4 separate regions of the Homo sapiens genome follow, and all the other regions are linked to region 1. Evidence: promoter capture Hi-C in human tissues and cell types (Jung and others, 2019). All regions are on one chromosome and are shown on one strand. The core of a region is centred on a gene start or on the middle of the fragment in contact, and the rest is flanking DNA. Distances in the headings are between cores, read along the strand shown.

The links. Contacts are between HindIII fragments. The study calls those that stand out against the background at their distance.
Region 2: the fragment with the promoter of CEP19 here is called in contact with the fragment with the promoter of RNF168 in region 1 in 1 of the 25 tissues and cell types used here (ovary).
Region 3: a fragment that was not itself captured here is called in contact with the fragment with the promoter of RNF168 in region 1 in 6 of the 25 tissues and cell types used here (IMR-90 fibroblasts, aorta, dorsolateral prefrontal cortex and 3 more).
Region 4: a fragment that was not itself captured here is called in contact with the fragment with the promoter of RNF168 in region 1 in 1 of the 25 tissues and cell types used here (mesenchymal stem cells).

What each region holds. Positions count from the first base shown.
Region 1 is chr3:196,502,085-196,505,606 of GRCh38, forward strand. It overlaps RNF168 (ring finger protein 168), which reads right to left and starts at 1,684. Exons shown (of 6, transcript NM_152617.4): 1 at 789-1,684. The coding sequence starts at 1,089. LOC105374307 (a long non-coding RNA gene) reads left to right here and starts at 3,268. Exons shown (of 3, transcript XR_924897.3): 1 at 3,268-3,522. RefSeq lists enhancers at 1-478, 479-1,162, 814-883, 924-1,013 and a silencer at 1,634-1,933. The HindIII fragment of the contact is 9,103 bases long and covers 341-3,522 here.
Region 2 is chr3:196,710,658-196,714,179 of GRCh38, forward strand. CEP19 (centrosomal protein 19) reads right to left here and starts at 1,593. Exons shown (of 3, transcript NM_032898.5): 1 at 1,272-1,593. It overlaps PIGX (phosphatidylinositol glycan anchor biosynthesis class X), which reads left to right and starts at 1,720. Exons shown (of 6, transcript NM_017861.4): 1 at 1,720-1,987. The coding sequence starts at 1,876. RefSeq lists silencers at 1,343-1,655, 1,490-2,119. The HindIII fragment of the contact is 13,108 bases long and covers 1-3,522 here.
Region 3 is chr3:196,690,215-196,693,736 of GRCh38, forward strand. No RefSeq gene overlaps it. Among named protein-coding and RNA genes, the nearest start is that of CEP19, 20 kb to the right of the region's middle. The HindIII fragment of the contact is 6,798 bases long and covers 1-3,522 here.
Region 4 is chr3:196,651,515-196,655,036 of GRCh38, forward strand. It overlaps NRROS (negative regulator of reactive oxygen species), which reads left to right. Exons shown (of 3, transcript NM_198565.3): 2 at 3,013-3,133. The coding sequence starts at 3,026. Among named protein-coding and RNA genes, the nearest start is that of NRROS, 14 kb to the left of the region's middle. RefSeq lists an enhancer at 1-3. The HindIII fragment of the contact is 5,100 bases long and covers 1-3,522 here.

The DNA.
Region 1 (3,522 bases), core at 434-2,933:
CTGTCCACGAGAGAACGGAGACACCATATCCTAAGCCCAGACAGGAACCACCGCCCGGCTTATTGCTCACATTAGTGGAGGAAAGAGTCAAGGGTTCAGTTTGGGGCTCCTGAGTCTACCGGGTGCAGGGTTGAGTGATAAAAAAGCGACTTTAGCCTCGTCGCATGATTAGGAGAATCAAGAATTAAATGAATGGAGATGTATAGATAAGTAAATCAGAGGCCGGGCGCGGTGGCTCAAGCCTGTAATCCCAGCATTTTGGCAGGCCGAGGCGGGCGGATCCCTTGAGGTCAGGAGTTTGAGATCAGCCTGGCCAACATGGTGAAATCCCGTCTCTACTAAAAAACAGAAAAATTCCCCGGGCGTGATGGTGCACGCGTGTAACCCCAGCTACTCGGGAGGCTGAGGCAGGAGAATCGCTTGAAACCGGGAGGCGGAGGTTGCAGGGAGCCGAGATCGCGCCACTGCACTCCAGCCTGGAGGACGGAGCGAGATCCTGTCTCAAAAAAAAAAAAAAGAAGGCTCCAGACGGGCAATTCTTTAATTTTTAACACAACAAACACCCATCGAACACAGCGCGGGCATTTTGACAATGGACAAAATCTTGCCCTTGACTTTATAATCCATCGACATTTGGGGACCCATAAACCCCCTAACCTCTGAGAACTATTTAGACAAATACTAGTCGGGTTTTTTGGTTTGTTTTTACTTTTTAAATGGAAAAGTGATGATTCACCTTTTCAAAGACTTGCGGCTTTTGGCCAACAAACACGCCATGGTTTACTCACCCACTTCCTCTGATTCTTGGCCAGACGCTCTAAGCTTGCACTCCCTGGGATAGTGTTTTTGAATTATCGTCCACAGTTCCACGTTGACGAGAGAATTTCTTCGGGTATGGTACCGAGTCCACGACGATACCCGGCGGCGACAGAAGGGACAGCATAAACTCGCCTTTTCGACGGTCGACTGGAAGCACGGTTTACACAGCGTGTGGTTACACGGGAGGGTGACGGGCTCCACGAGGATTTCCATGCAGATCCCGCACTGGCACTCGGACAGCGAGGGGATGGCGTCTTTGGGTAGAGCCATTTCAATATGTTAGTAAAGCCGACTAAACAACGACACCTGCACGAAAAAGAATCCTATTTTCGGCCAACCACAGAGAGAGCAAAAGCAGTTTTGTGTTTCAGTATTATGCCCAGAAGCGTATCAGAATTCGGAGAACAGGAGCATCCAACACGTCTTGAAGCAAAAAGGCGCTCTCAGGGTCAGGCAAACAGGAATACCCCGGAGGGCGGCGTCTTTGTCCATTTTCAAGGCAAACGTCCCGCCAGCAAATAAATGCAGGTTTTCGTCGGAGGAGCCTGGCTGCTCCGCGGCATGAACACCGCGGCTGCGGCTCCCGGGGCAGCGAGGGGAACGCGCCAAGTCCTCTCCTCCCCTCACCCGGAAAGGATGCTCCGCTCAGCTCGGGGCAGCCGGGCCCCGGGACGCGGCTCCGGGAGGAAGCCCGGGCTCCGGCTGCAGCATAACTTCCGCTTTACCGCTGCTGCGGGGGAGACGCGCGACTCCCGTGTTCACCTTTCGGGCGCCTGGCGCAGTTTCCCAGAGCTCCGCGCCCCCGTCCCTCCTACGCAGCCAGAAACCCTATTCGTTGCGGCAGCGCAGCAGCCACCGGACAAGCGCTAGCAACGTCACAACCGCCCGCCAAAATCGCACTTCCCACCCAGAAAACTGCCCAAGGGCGAACGTTCCCGGGGCGGGACTTCCGGGGTCTGCGCGCCGCCCGCCCTCCCTCCCAGCCGGAGACGGTCCCGCCCTGGCGTCGCAGCCCCGCCTAGTGCAGCCTGGGTGGAGCCTGACCTTTCCCTGAGATTTCTGCGAGGCCTCAGACACCCCTGGTTTCTTGGTTTCTGGGTAGAAAAAGGGAAACCTCAAAACAAAATCAACAGCCAAACAAGGCCGGGTGCGGTGGCTCACGCCTGTAATCCCAGCACTTCGGGAGGCCGAGGCGGGCGGATCACCTGAGGTCAGGAGTTCAAGACCAGCCTGGCCAACATGGTGAAACCCCCGTCCTTACTAAAAATACAAAAATTAGCTGGGCATTGTGACAAGCTCCTGCAATTCCAGCTACTCAGGAGGCTGAGACAGGAGAATCGCTAAACCTGGGAGGCAGAGGCTGCAGTGAGCCGAGATTGTGCCACTGCACTCCAGCCTGGGGGACAGAGCAAAATTCCACCTCAAAAAATACAAATAAATAAATAGATAAAAGAATTGGGGTCTCACTGTTTTATCCAGGCTGGACTACAACTCCAGGGTTCCAGGGATTCTTTCGCCTCAGCCTCTGGAGTAGCTGGGTCTAGAGCTTGCAACTCCATAGCCAGCTCCGGACCTGCATTTTTTGAGGGAATCAATCAGTGTGAAGGAAGAGAAAAGAAAATCACTGTGCGTGAAAGCAGCCTTTAAGTTGTTTTGAGGCTGCTGAGAGCATTCAGGCTGGGTAGGGGATGGTTTCCAGGTTGAGAACAACGAGGAGACATCGGTCGTTGGTAGAAGTCTTTGGGAACTTTCATTTCAATGTGGGTTCAGAAACCTGTTATTGTCTGTGATAGCTCACACCTGTAGTCCCAGCACTTTGGAAGGCCAAGGCGGGAAGATCAGTGGAGCCCAGGAGTTCAGGTCCAGCCTGGGCAACATAGTGAGACCCTGTCTCTACAAAAAATAAAAAAATTAACTCGGTGTGCTGGCTCACACTTATACTCTCAGCTACTCTGGTGGCTGAGGTGGGAGGATCACTTGAGCCCAGGAGGTCAAGGCTGCAGTGAACAGTGATCGTACCACTGCACCCCAGCCTGGGTGACAGGGCAAGACCCTGTCTCAAAAAAAAGAAAAAAAAAAGAAACCTGGGACTGTCATCTGGTTGTCTACAGTAACAGTACCTTAGCTTGGAATTTCAGGCTTGTTTTTTGTTCGTTTGTTTGTTTTTTTGAGATGGCTCCTCATTCTGTTGCCCAGGTTGGAGTGCAGTGGTTTGATCTCAGCTTACTGCAACCTCCACCTCCTGGGTTCAAGCGATTCTCATGCCTCAGCCTCCCGAGTAGCTGCAATTACAGGCGCGTGCCTTGTAATACCACGTGCATTGTAATACCACGCCTGGCAAATTTTTGTATTCTTAGTAGAGATGGGGTTTCACCATGTTGGCCATGCTGGTCTCGAACTCCTGACCTCAGGTGATCCACCGGCCTTGGCCTTCCAAAGTGCTGGGATTACAGGCGTGAGCCACTGCACCTGGCCTTCAGGCTTCCTAATATGTCCACAACCTGCTTTTCCCATCGAATCTCCCATTATTCTTTTAAACATGCAACTATGATTTATTCTCTGTCATCCAAACGTTTTGCTTTCATGACATTGCTTTCTCGGTTCATCCTAAATGGGTTGCTTTGTGGCTGTGCCTACTTCAAACACCAATTTAATGCAGTTGGGCCAGGCACGGTGGCTCATGCCTGTAATCCCAGCACTTTG
Region 2 (3,522 bases), core at 343-2,842, 210 kb after region 1:
CGAGACCATGCATGTCTCTACAAAAAATTTAAAAATTGGCCAGGCATGGCAGCATGCACCTGTAGTCCCAGCCACACCAAAGGCCAAGGTGGGAGAATCGCCTGAACCCAGGAGTTTGGGGCTGCAGTGAGTTGAGATGGTGCCACTGCACAACAGCCTCTCCAAAGCATGATACGCCTATTCTTAAAAAAAAAAAAAAAAAAAAAAAAAACTACTTTAAAAAATTACTGTGCTCTACCTCTAATCTGATGCAATGAGCTCACACCATTTCTCCTTCTTTTCCTTCTCTTTTCTTGCTTTTTTTTTTTTTTTAACGAATACTATTCCCAATTCACCTAACTAAAATTTGATGTTAGTAAACTACAACCTACGGGGCACATATAAACTCCACACACTGAAGCAATGGCTGTACTCGTCAAAGATGTATGCAGTTGGTACTCAAATAATGTAGTTTTTTTTTTACTAGACTCTTTTTAAAATTTAACTTTAATTTTTGCTAAAGTAATGTTTGTATTTGGAATATAAAATAATTCTATGAGGCTTATAACAACAAACTATCGTCCTTGGCCCTACTCCTCTTCATAGGGAGCCAGACTGAATTTTAAAAGGCATATCTTCCAAAATTTCTCTCTCCATTTCTTAAGAAACATGCTTATACTACCATTTTCAGTTTTTTTTTTTCTTTTGAAACAGAGTCTCCCTCTGTCGCCTAGGCTGCAGTGCAGTGGCGTGATCTCCCCTCGCTGCAACCTCCGCCTCCTGGGTTCAAGCGATTCTCGTGCCTCAGCCTCCCGAGTAGCTGGAATTACAGGTGCCTACCACCATGCCCAGCTAATCTTTGTATTTTCAGTAGAGACGGGGTTTCGCCATCTTGGCCAGGCTGGTCTCGAACTCCTGACCTCAGGTGATTCGCCCAAAGTGCTGGGGCTATAGGCGTGAGCCACCTGCCCGGCTATTTTCAGTTTTGGATAGTATGTTTTGACATACACTCTGTTTCCTCTTTGAGACACCCGCTCTAGAGCCCTCTATTCCACTCCAAGCCGCCTGGATGCTCTCTTGGCCTGCTTACAGATTCCACTCTGTTTAGGAAGAAGGACGGCACGTTTATCCAATTATTCTTCCTGGACACGAATACTCCTCTCCCCAGAGATCAGTAACTGCCCACAATCTTGTTAGGAAGCCCCACAGCACCTAAGGGTACGAATGTCCCCAAAGAGTAGACGATTCTCTCCCTACTCACGTCTCCACTAGTGCAAGGCTGGCTTTCTTACCCTTAGAGGAATACAGAAATGACATCGTCTGCAGGCCAACGTCTAAACAACCAGGAGTGGGTTTTTCCACCCAACCGCAGTGCACGCAAAGCCCCTAAGCCGACTGTGAGACCGGGCGGAGCCTGGCGCTGCAGGAAGAGGCGACAGCCACAGCCCTACTGACGAGCCCGAGGGGTGAACTCCCCGGCGGGAGGCCCGAACCCTCAAACACCGGGAAGCGGAGGTGGGGGCCGGCTGGGGGACCGGTCCACCGGCTCCCACCTCGGCGTACAGGGATTCCAGGTCCCGGCGAGCGCTGGCCTAGCGGTTTCCACAGCGACAGGCCGGGCGCGCGTCCCCGCGCGTGCGCAGCTCCTCGCCCGCCCCCGGGTGGGCGGAGCAAGGAACAGCTGGGCGGGGACGACCGCCCCACGCCGCGCGGGAACCCTTGGGGGCCGGGGCTGCAGGCAGCTGGGAACCGCGGGCGCTAGGCGCGCGCACCCAGCACTCGGTCCCAGCCGATAAATCTGGGGCAGCGCGCGGTAGGAGCTGCGGGCGGCCAGGCCCCTTCCTGCGTCCGCACCTGGCCCCGCGCGCCCCTCTCGGGCGTCCGGCTTCCGGCGTCCTGGCGGCTCGGGTGGCGGCGGTTCGGGCGGCCGCCTGGCTGCTCCTCGGGGCGGCGACCGGGCTCACGCGCGGGCCCGCCGCGGCCTTCACCGCCGCGCGCTCTGACGCCGGTAAGGGGGGCGGGGCTTGGGGGGCCAGAGCGTGGGAGCGGTCCCGGCTCCCGGGCCTCTCGGCGGGTTGCGGGGATGTGGGGACCCGGCGCGGGACCTAGATCAGTAGGGCGAGCCGGAGGAGGTCAGACACTAGAGCCGTGTGCCCTCCTTCCCTCCCGTGCGCTTTGCTCTGCGGCGGATCCCGGGTCTCCGGGAGAGTCGGGCTCGGGCCCTGCGGTTCCCAGGCTGGACTGGCCGCCCTGTTACTAAAGTTCTGAGAAGGAAAGTCAGCCGTCAAGCGTCTTGGGATGCTCTTGAGCTGCACGAAGCTTCTGATCACCAAGGGGCCAGGCAAGGCCTTAGCGCCCTGTGAGGCCTGAGAATCCCCAAACTGAATGTAGGACTCCGTGGCAAACTGCTAGTTGTTCGTGCAAGTAGTAGTTGGCAAACTGCTTGTACTACTGAGACGGGCAAGTGCGGGAATAATTACAATAAAGGGTAAGGTTTGATGGGAGGAAAGCACAAACCCTACAAGTTTCTCCATCTGTAAAATGAGGATGTTTCTGTCATCCTTGGTATCATTTAGATCCGTTTAGTATCTGTCAATCAGTGCAGTTCTGCTTGTGTGTTTACATATTGGGTTTTCAAGTTTATCTAAACAAAGGATTATGAGGCCAAGAAGATTTTTTTTTTGAGATGGAGTCTCACTCTGTTGCCAGGCTGGAGTGCAATGGCGCGATCTCGGCTCACTGCAACCTCCGCCTTTCCCAAGTTCAAGCAATTCTTCTGCTTCAGCCTCCCAAGTAGCTGGGATTATTACAGGTGCCCGCCACCATGCCCAGCTAATTTTTTGTATTTTTAGTAGAGACGGGGTTTCGCCGTATTGGTCAAGCTGGTCTTGAACTCCTGACCTCAGGTGGTCCACCCTCCTCAGCCTCCCAAAGTGCCAGGATTACAGGTGTGAACTACCATGCTCGGCCAGAAGAATTTTTAAACAGTTGGATTTGGTAATCTGTAGAGGCTTCCAACGTTAGCATTTTATAATTGAAAAGGGGTCAAAATTAGCGGGGCGTGATGGCGTGCCCCTGTAGTCCCAGCTACTCAGGGGGCTAAGGCAGGAGAATCGCTTGAACTAGGGAGGCGGAGGTTGCAGTGAGCCGAGATCGCGCCATTGCACTCCAGCCTGGGTGACAGAGGGAGACTCTGTCTCAAAAAAAAAAAAAAAAAGGAAAAAGAAGTCAATTTCCAGAGCCAGTTCACCACTACCAAAGTAATAGTTAAGAGGAAAAATGTTGAAGGTAAATTCACATTCAACAAATTCGTTTTAAAAATGGTACTTTTGCCTTTAAAATCATGACATTCTAGTATTTGCTGTACTATTTGTAAATTAGCCTTTCTCCGGTCCCAATGATCAACTGCTGTCTGGTGTACATACCAGTAGAATTTAAGCCTGTTCATAATTTTTCTTCTAATTTAATTTATAGTTGGATAGCAGTCCTCACTTCCCACCCTACCCCCATTAAAATTAAACAGGATGAAGAAAGATCTGGATT
Region 3 (3,522 bases), core at 589-3,088, 190 kb after region 1:
ACAGATGAGTCTGGTGCATGCTGAAGTCTAAGAACCACTAGCTTGAGTAGAGATTCAAAGTTTGGGTCTCTAGCACAGAAAGACTTTTGCAACAACGAGTCTCGGGAGGCGTAAAGCAAGCAGAGAGGACTGCAGCTGTTAAAAGTAGTCCTAAGAAGATTCTAGGTAGGAGAACTCAAGCGTGGGGAGCTGGGAAACCCCAGCTGGCAGGGAGGGGTCCTACCTGGCGAGCTGCCCCCCAAGGGCCTGCGCTGGTCAAGTGTCTCCCGAAGGGTCTGCCTGCGGGCAGGAGAAACACAGGTGTCCAGGACTAGTGTTCTGACTGATACGTGGCCCTAGGATTTCTCTCCTGGGACCACTTGGAGAGGCAACCCTTGGCTGCCAGAGGAAGAGACTGATGGAGGCAGCAGGACGGGAGGAAGGCCTGTGGGAGGAGGGTGCCAGAGTGGGAAGGGAGCATGTGAGGAGAGTCTTGATGGTTAATGCCAATTACCTCTAGAAAATTACCAGGCTTTACAGACTCAAGAGCTACTACCCAAAAGATTGAAAAAACTGCCTTAAAAAAAAAAAAAGCAACCCACCCCAGGGAAGAGAGAGAGCTATTTAGAAAACTCCAGAAGTAAATAAGCTCAGACAAATCTGAGATTTATCTGGTCTCTGCTCCTGAGTCCTGTCTGAGAATCAGGCACCTAAGAGACGGGGTGTTGTGTCCACCAGAGACGGTGGAGAGGCCGGGCACGGTGGCTCACACCTGTAATCCCAGCACTTCGGGAGGCCGAGGTGGGCAGATCACCTGAGGTCAGGAGTTCAAGACCAGCCTGGCCAAGGTGGTGAGACTCTGTCTCTTCTAAAAATACAAAAATTAGCCAGACTTGGTGGCGCACACCTGTAATCCCAGCTACTCGGGAGGCTGAGGCAGGAGAATCGCTTGAACCCGGGAGGCAGAGGATGCAGTAAGCCAAGATCACGCCATTGCACTCCAGCCTGGGTGACAGAGCGAGACTCCATCTCAAAAAAGAAAAGAGATAGCGAAGAAAGCCATCATCTCTGGTGGTTTGCAGGTTTGATTTTCATAGCAGAACCCTTAATGAAGATCTCAAGTAGAACTCTGAAATGGGAAAAACTTCAACATGTAAGAATTGAGCTGCTGTGGATAAATTAGGAGTCCAGTTCCCACCTCCTTATTCTTTTTATCACTCAGAACAATGACCACTTTTACACCCGACCCCAACCCTAGCTCCCCAGGATGCTGCTCCACAGAAGGCAGCTTGAAAAACGCCAATGGTTAACCTCTCTGGTGCCTTGCTGGGCTGCTGTAGGGACAGCGGGGTCACTGCTTCACAAAGTCACCCTTCCCGTTGCTGGCGGTTTTGATCTTCAGAGAGTTCTGTCTTTTCTTTTTTCTTCTTCTTCTTTTTTTTTTTTTTTCTGAGGCGGAGTTTTATGCTTTTCCCCCAGGCTAGAGTGTGCAATGGCGTGATCTGGGCTTGCTGCAACCTCTGTCTCCTGGGTTCAAGTGATTCTCCTGCCTCAGCCTCCCGAGTAACTGGAATTACAGGTGCACACAACCACGCCCAGCTAATTTTTGGATTTTTAGTAGAGACGGGGTTTCACCATGTTGGCCAGGCTAGTCTCGAACTCCTGACCTCAAGTGATCCACCCTCCTTGGCCTCCCAAAGTGCTGAGATTACAGGCGTGAGCCACCGCGCCTGGCCAGAAAGTTCTGTCTTTTCTTGAGGTGAGAGCTGCTCCCTAAATTTCCAATCACTGTGCCTAGTTTTTCCCTCTAGAAGTAGTAATATATTCTTCTACGTGAAAGATCTGTAAAGAACTAAAGAGCTTTAAGAGCAATCTTTTAACTTTTGCCTTTTCCAGGCAAAAATCTCATCACTTCTTGCAAAGGATTCTCATGTGACATGGTCACTCTCTGTGGGACACACTCCAGTTTGTCAACATCTTTTAAAATGAGGCTCCTGGAAGAAAACATGGCTCCAGACAGGATCTGATCAGGACCTTTCCCCCATCTGAGCACTAACCCTCAATTAATGTAGCGTAGGCTTACATTAGCTTTCTGGGCAGCCAGTCCACAGAGTGTTCATACTGCGACTGCTGCCAATTGGATGCCCTCTGTCTGTTTCACGTTGTTTTTAGGTTAACTGTTTCCTGTCCTGTGCTCTTGCAGTTGGCATTTCTTAATGCAAGTCATGGACTTTACTTGTGTCTCCATAATATCTTGTCCTGTAGGTGTTAGTCCAGTCACTCAAAATATTATAAAATACAGATCTTTTCCTTTTCTTTTTTTTTTTTTGAGATGGAGTTTTGCTCTTGTTGCCCAGGCTGGAGTGCAGTGGTGCAGTCTCAGCTCACTGCAACCTCCGCCTCCTGGGTTCAAGCAATTCTCCTGCCTCAGCCTCCCGAGTATCCAGGATTGCAGGCGTGCACCACCACGCCTGGCTAATTTTGTATTTTTAGTAGAGACGGGGTTCCACCATGTTGGCCAGGATGGTCTCCATCTCCTGACCTAGTGATCCACCCACCTCGGCCTCCCATAGTGCTGGGATTATAGGCATGAGCCACCACGCCCGGCTGGCAAAAGACTTTTTAAAAAAACTTTCACATATTGAACACTTACTCCATGACAGATGCTGTACTATGCATATGGTATCTAACTTCCTCCTTACGCTGGCCCAGTGGAAACAGGTATTAACGTCCCATTTTACAAATGAGAAAACTGGGGAAAGGAACAAAGATGAATGTATCCTGATTTCTGAGGGTCTTTTCGGCTGATGACTGAGCAGGGAGATGTTCTACACACACAGCCATTTAAGCCCCACCCAGCAGTCCTAAGGGAAGAGTTAGGCTCAGCACCGGATGAAAGGCTTGAACCACGGGAGCGAGAGCAGAAGAAAAACTCACTCCTGGTTCCTTCTCCCTAGGGTGACACCTCATCCACCTTTTGAAGAAAGTGGGGCCAGGCATAGGAATGGACCAAGAAAATGAAAAACAGTTAAAGCTGGATTTTAAAAATAAAGCTTATTGAGCATATAATGCTATAAAATGTGCTTGCTCATGCAGTTGTCTTGGATGTAAGACCCTGATATTTGGATACAGTGGCTTTATCAGGATGAAATATTTTTTCTTCCTTGACTTCCACCATGCCCAGTTAATTTTTTGTATTTTTAGTAGAGACGGGGTTTCACCGTGTTAGCCAGGATGGTCTCCATCTCCTGACCTCGTGAGCCGCTGGCCTCGGCCTCCCAAAGTGCTGGAATTACAGGCGTGAGCCACCACGCCCGGCCTTGACTTCCTTTTTTGGTTTTGCGGGAGGGAATGGATTGAGTGAAGGAGGAACCCCACACAGTCTACTCTATCTACACAGCATTTATGACCGTGTGATATTTTTCTTTTTCTTTTTTTTTGCCTATAGTTTCTTGTTGGAAAAAGACACGTTTTCTTGTTGACTGTTGCTCCCCGACAGAAATGTGAGCTCCACGAAAGAAAAGTCCTGGCTTTTCCTCTCTG
Region 4 (3,522 bases), core at 426-2,925, 150 kb after region 1:
CCATCACTTTGGGAGGTCAAGGCGGGCAGATCACCTGAGGTCATGAGATTGAGACCAGCCTGGCCAACATGGTGGAACCTCATCTCTACTAAAAATACAAAAATTAGCCAGGCGTGGTGGCGTGCACCTGTAATCCCAGCTACTTGGGAGGCTGAGGCAGGAGAATTGTTGAACCCGGGAGGTGGAGTTTGCAGTGAGGCGAGATCACAACATTGTACTCCAACCTGGGCAACAAGAGCAAAACTCCGTCTCAAAAAACAAAACAAAACGAACAAAAACAAAGAGGAGGAGGTGGTGTCACCAGAGCCTAGGGGTCAGCGGAAGAAACTCTAGGATGTCTCTGTCCAAGGCAGAGAGGAAGGGAGAGAAGTATGCTGGATTCTTTCTGCCCTCTACTGTCTGACCTCCCAGGAGGAGTGTCTTCCATTGACTAAACCAGCAGAGTTTGTGACAGGTGACAGCAGTTTGAGGCCAGGTGACAGCAGAGTTTGAGATTCAGAACCTTCAGAAGTCAGAGCCCTGCCACACTGAGGAGGGCAGGGAAGGGGAAGGCGCAGCTCTGGGGACAAACCGCTGTCAGCCAGCATAGTCATCTGTGCTCAGGGCTAGCCTTGCTCTGCAATTTATGAATGCAGAGTTTTTAATTGAACCTTCCTGCATATGTTTTACATATCTAGTTGGTATAATTCATCCTTCCAGCCACATTACTCAGGCCTTTATTTTAGACTTTGTGTAGCTGTTGAACTACCTTGGAGATTACACAGGAATAACCAGCACTCAGTCAACTCACTGGTGTTTGGAACTCACAAGTAATAATTAATAATTGTGTTACTTGCTACCTTTACAGCCATGAAGCCCTTTCACATTCATGAGACTGGTTATTCTCATGCAACTCTGGAATAGTTATTATTACTCCCATTTTGTAGACGGATTCTCTGAGTCTTGGAGACTTTGTCTGAATTCCTAAAGGACAAATAACAAATAACAGAGGCAGAATTCAAACTCTGGTCTGCTTGGTTCCAAATTCCATGATCTTCCCATGATATCCTGCTGCTTCCTGCCAGGGCCACAACAAGAGTTTTTTTCTGGGCTGGTTGGCTGAGTTTAGGAGGAAGGAGAGGATATGTTTTAAACTTGCAAAATTCTTGATGACCCATAAATTAAAATGCCCCTCCTGAGTGTGACACAAGGCCTGGCTTGCCTTCCAGTCTGAAGGTTGCCTTTTCGCTGAGGGACCTGCACTCTTGCCCCTTACACGTCTAGATTCAGTTCTTCGATACGCAGGGCTGGCTCTTCCAGAGAGACTGGAGTCACAGCAGCAGGTACCACCCCACACCTGACAAGAGGTGGCCAGGGAGGAAGGGAGGGTTCTTACCTCCCCATCTCCCCTCAGTAAAATTCAGGATGCCCAGTGAAGTTTGAATGTCAGATAAACAATTTGTTAGTATAAGGATGTATCTAGCATTGAAATGATGCCTTGTAATTTACTAAATCTGCAACTATGCAGCCTTATTTCATGGCGGGCAGTGGTGGTGATCCCAGGTTTCAGGGGCGGGGAAGGGTGCTGGGGGGATCCTGAGGTCAGGAACCCGTACACCTCTGCTTCTGCCCTCTCTTCCCTGTGCCGGCCACAAGGCAATGACTCCTGTGTGGGTGCAGAGGCAGAAATGGGTCTGGAAGGGGATTCCCAGTGTCTGGCAAGTTCTGGTAAATTCTGCATTGGAGGTTCTCTCTGTAGTAAGGGGAGTTGGCCTGGCCTGAAGTGAAAGCTGGCTTACCCGGTTTCATTGAGCTCTTCAATTAGTCTGTTTGCACTGGTGAGCATTCAAATCTGATCAAGAAGGTAAAATGAGCTTTCAAGATCCCTAAATGCATTTGAAGAAAGGAAAGAGGAGGCCCCTGAGTGGCTGGAGCGAGCAGGTGGGGTGAGCTGGTGCCGCTGGCCCAGGAGAAGATGGGAGGGCAGACACTGGGCCTCCGGTAGGTGTCAAGGAATGGGCAGATGGAATGCTGGGGCCAGCTCTTGCCTCTGGGTCTGCAGAATGCAGAGCTGGGGGCATGCACTGGGCGTCAGGTCCCCAGCAGGGCAGCAGTGAGTGCAGCCTCGCTGCTGGGAGAAACTGCCCTGCTCACTCATCGGAGCTCGGGGAGCGAGGCGGGGCTGCTCTTAGCCCTGCCACTAAGTTCATCCACAACCTCGAGTAGTATCTCTGGGCCTTTGTTCACCTGGCAAATGTGATGAGTATATTGCATTTCCCTTATGGCTCCCCTTAGTTCTGAATCTCTGCTGGTGCGTGTATACCTTCAAGCCTTCTCATTATTGCTGTTCTCTGTGCACTGGCCAGGCAAGCGGGCTGGCAACCACGTTTCGTTAACCACCTTTATTCTACCCAAAGATTGCTTCTTCATTTTCCCTCCGTGTTTCCCCCGTCCAAGCAAAATATCAAACCTCTTTTTTCAAAGGGTCATAGTCAAATGAGTGAACCAAAGAGATCAACGCTTTTGTAACAGCCCCACATCAGCAGCTGAGGAGTAACTCTGGGACAGAGGCCCCCATCCGTGTTTCCGTCTCCGTCCACTCTCCAGTTGTTCATTCATTCACTCAGCAAGTACTTACTGAGCTCAGGGGATGCATCAGACCGATTGGAGCTGGAGGCAGGAAAACTTCAGCAGAATTACAAAATATGGGAAACTCCAGGTGACTGGAGGCCTGGTTACTCAAGCTTTTTGCTTCTCCCTTCTGTGCTGGACTCGCTGAAGTTTAGTGTTCAGCCACCCGTCCATCAAGTGGTAGAGGCAAAATGAAATTGAGTTCTTGTCAACAGTTTCAGTGAAAGGCCGGAAGTCTTGGCTAAATGGAGGTATCTGAGTATCCTGTGGGCTGCACCTCTATGGAGCTCCACAGAGCTCCAAGACCACATAGAATTGGAACTGGCTCCTTCTGCCGATAATACAAACAGCCCTCTGGGATGTCCTTCTCTGACTTACCTCTTCCCTGCTCTCTGTCCACAGGGCTGCCCTTGAGATGGAGTTGCTGCCTCTTTGGCTCTGCCTGGGTTTTCACTTCCTGACCGTGGGCTGGAGGAACAGAAGCGGAACAGCCACAGCAGCCTCCCAAGGAGTCTGCAAGTTGGTGAGTTTCCCTTGAACCCTGATCTGTCGGCTGCTCCTGTCCTGACAAGGCTTGGTCCATTTGGAAAGCTGACAGATTGTCCATCAGGAAGGGCAGAGAATGAAGGAGCCTGCATCACTCTGTGCCTGCCTAGCACAGGGGCATGTGCAGCTGCCCTTTAACCACAGGATTTTAAGATGCTTCCTGGGAAGAGCCAGGCAGTCCCTGCCCCGCCGTTCTCACGCCTGCTGAGGATAGGAGGCATCCGAGACCAGCCTAGGGCATCCTCCCGGAACAAGAACAACTTGTTAAAAATCTGGATGATTCAGGCCGGGTGCAGTGGCTCAGGCCTGTAATCCCAGCACTTTAGGAGGCCGAGGCAGGCAGATCACTTGAGCCCAGGAGTTGGA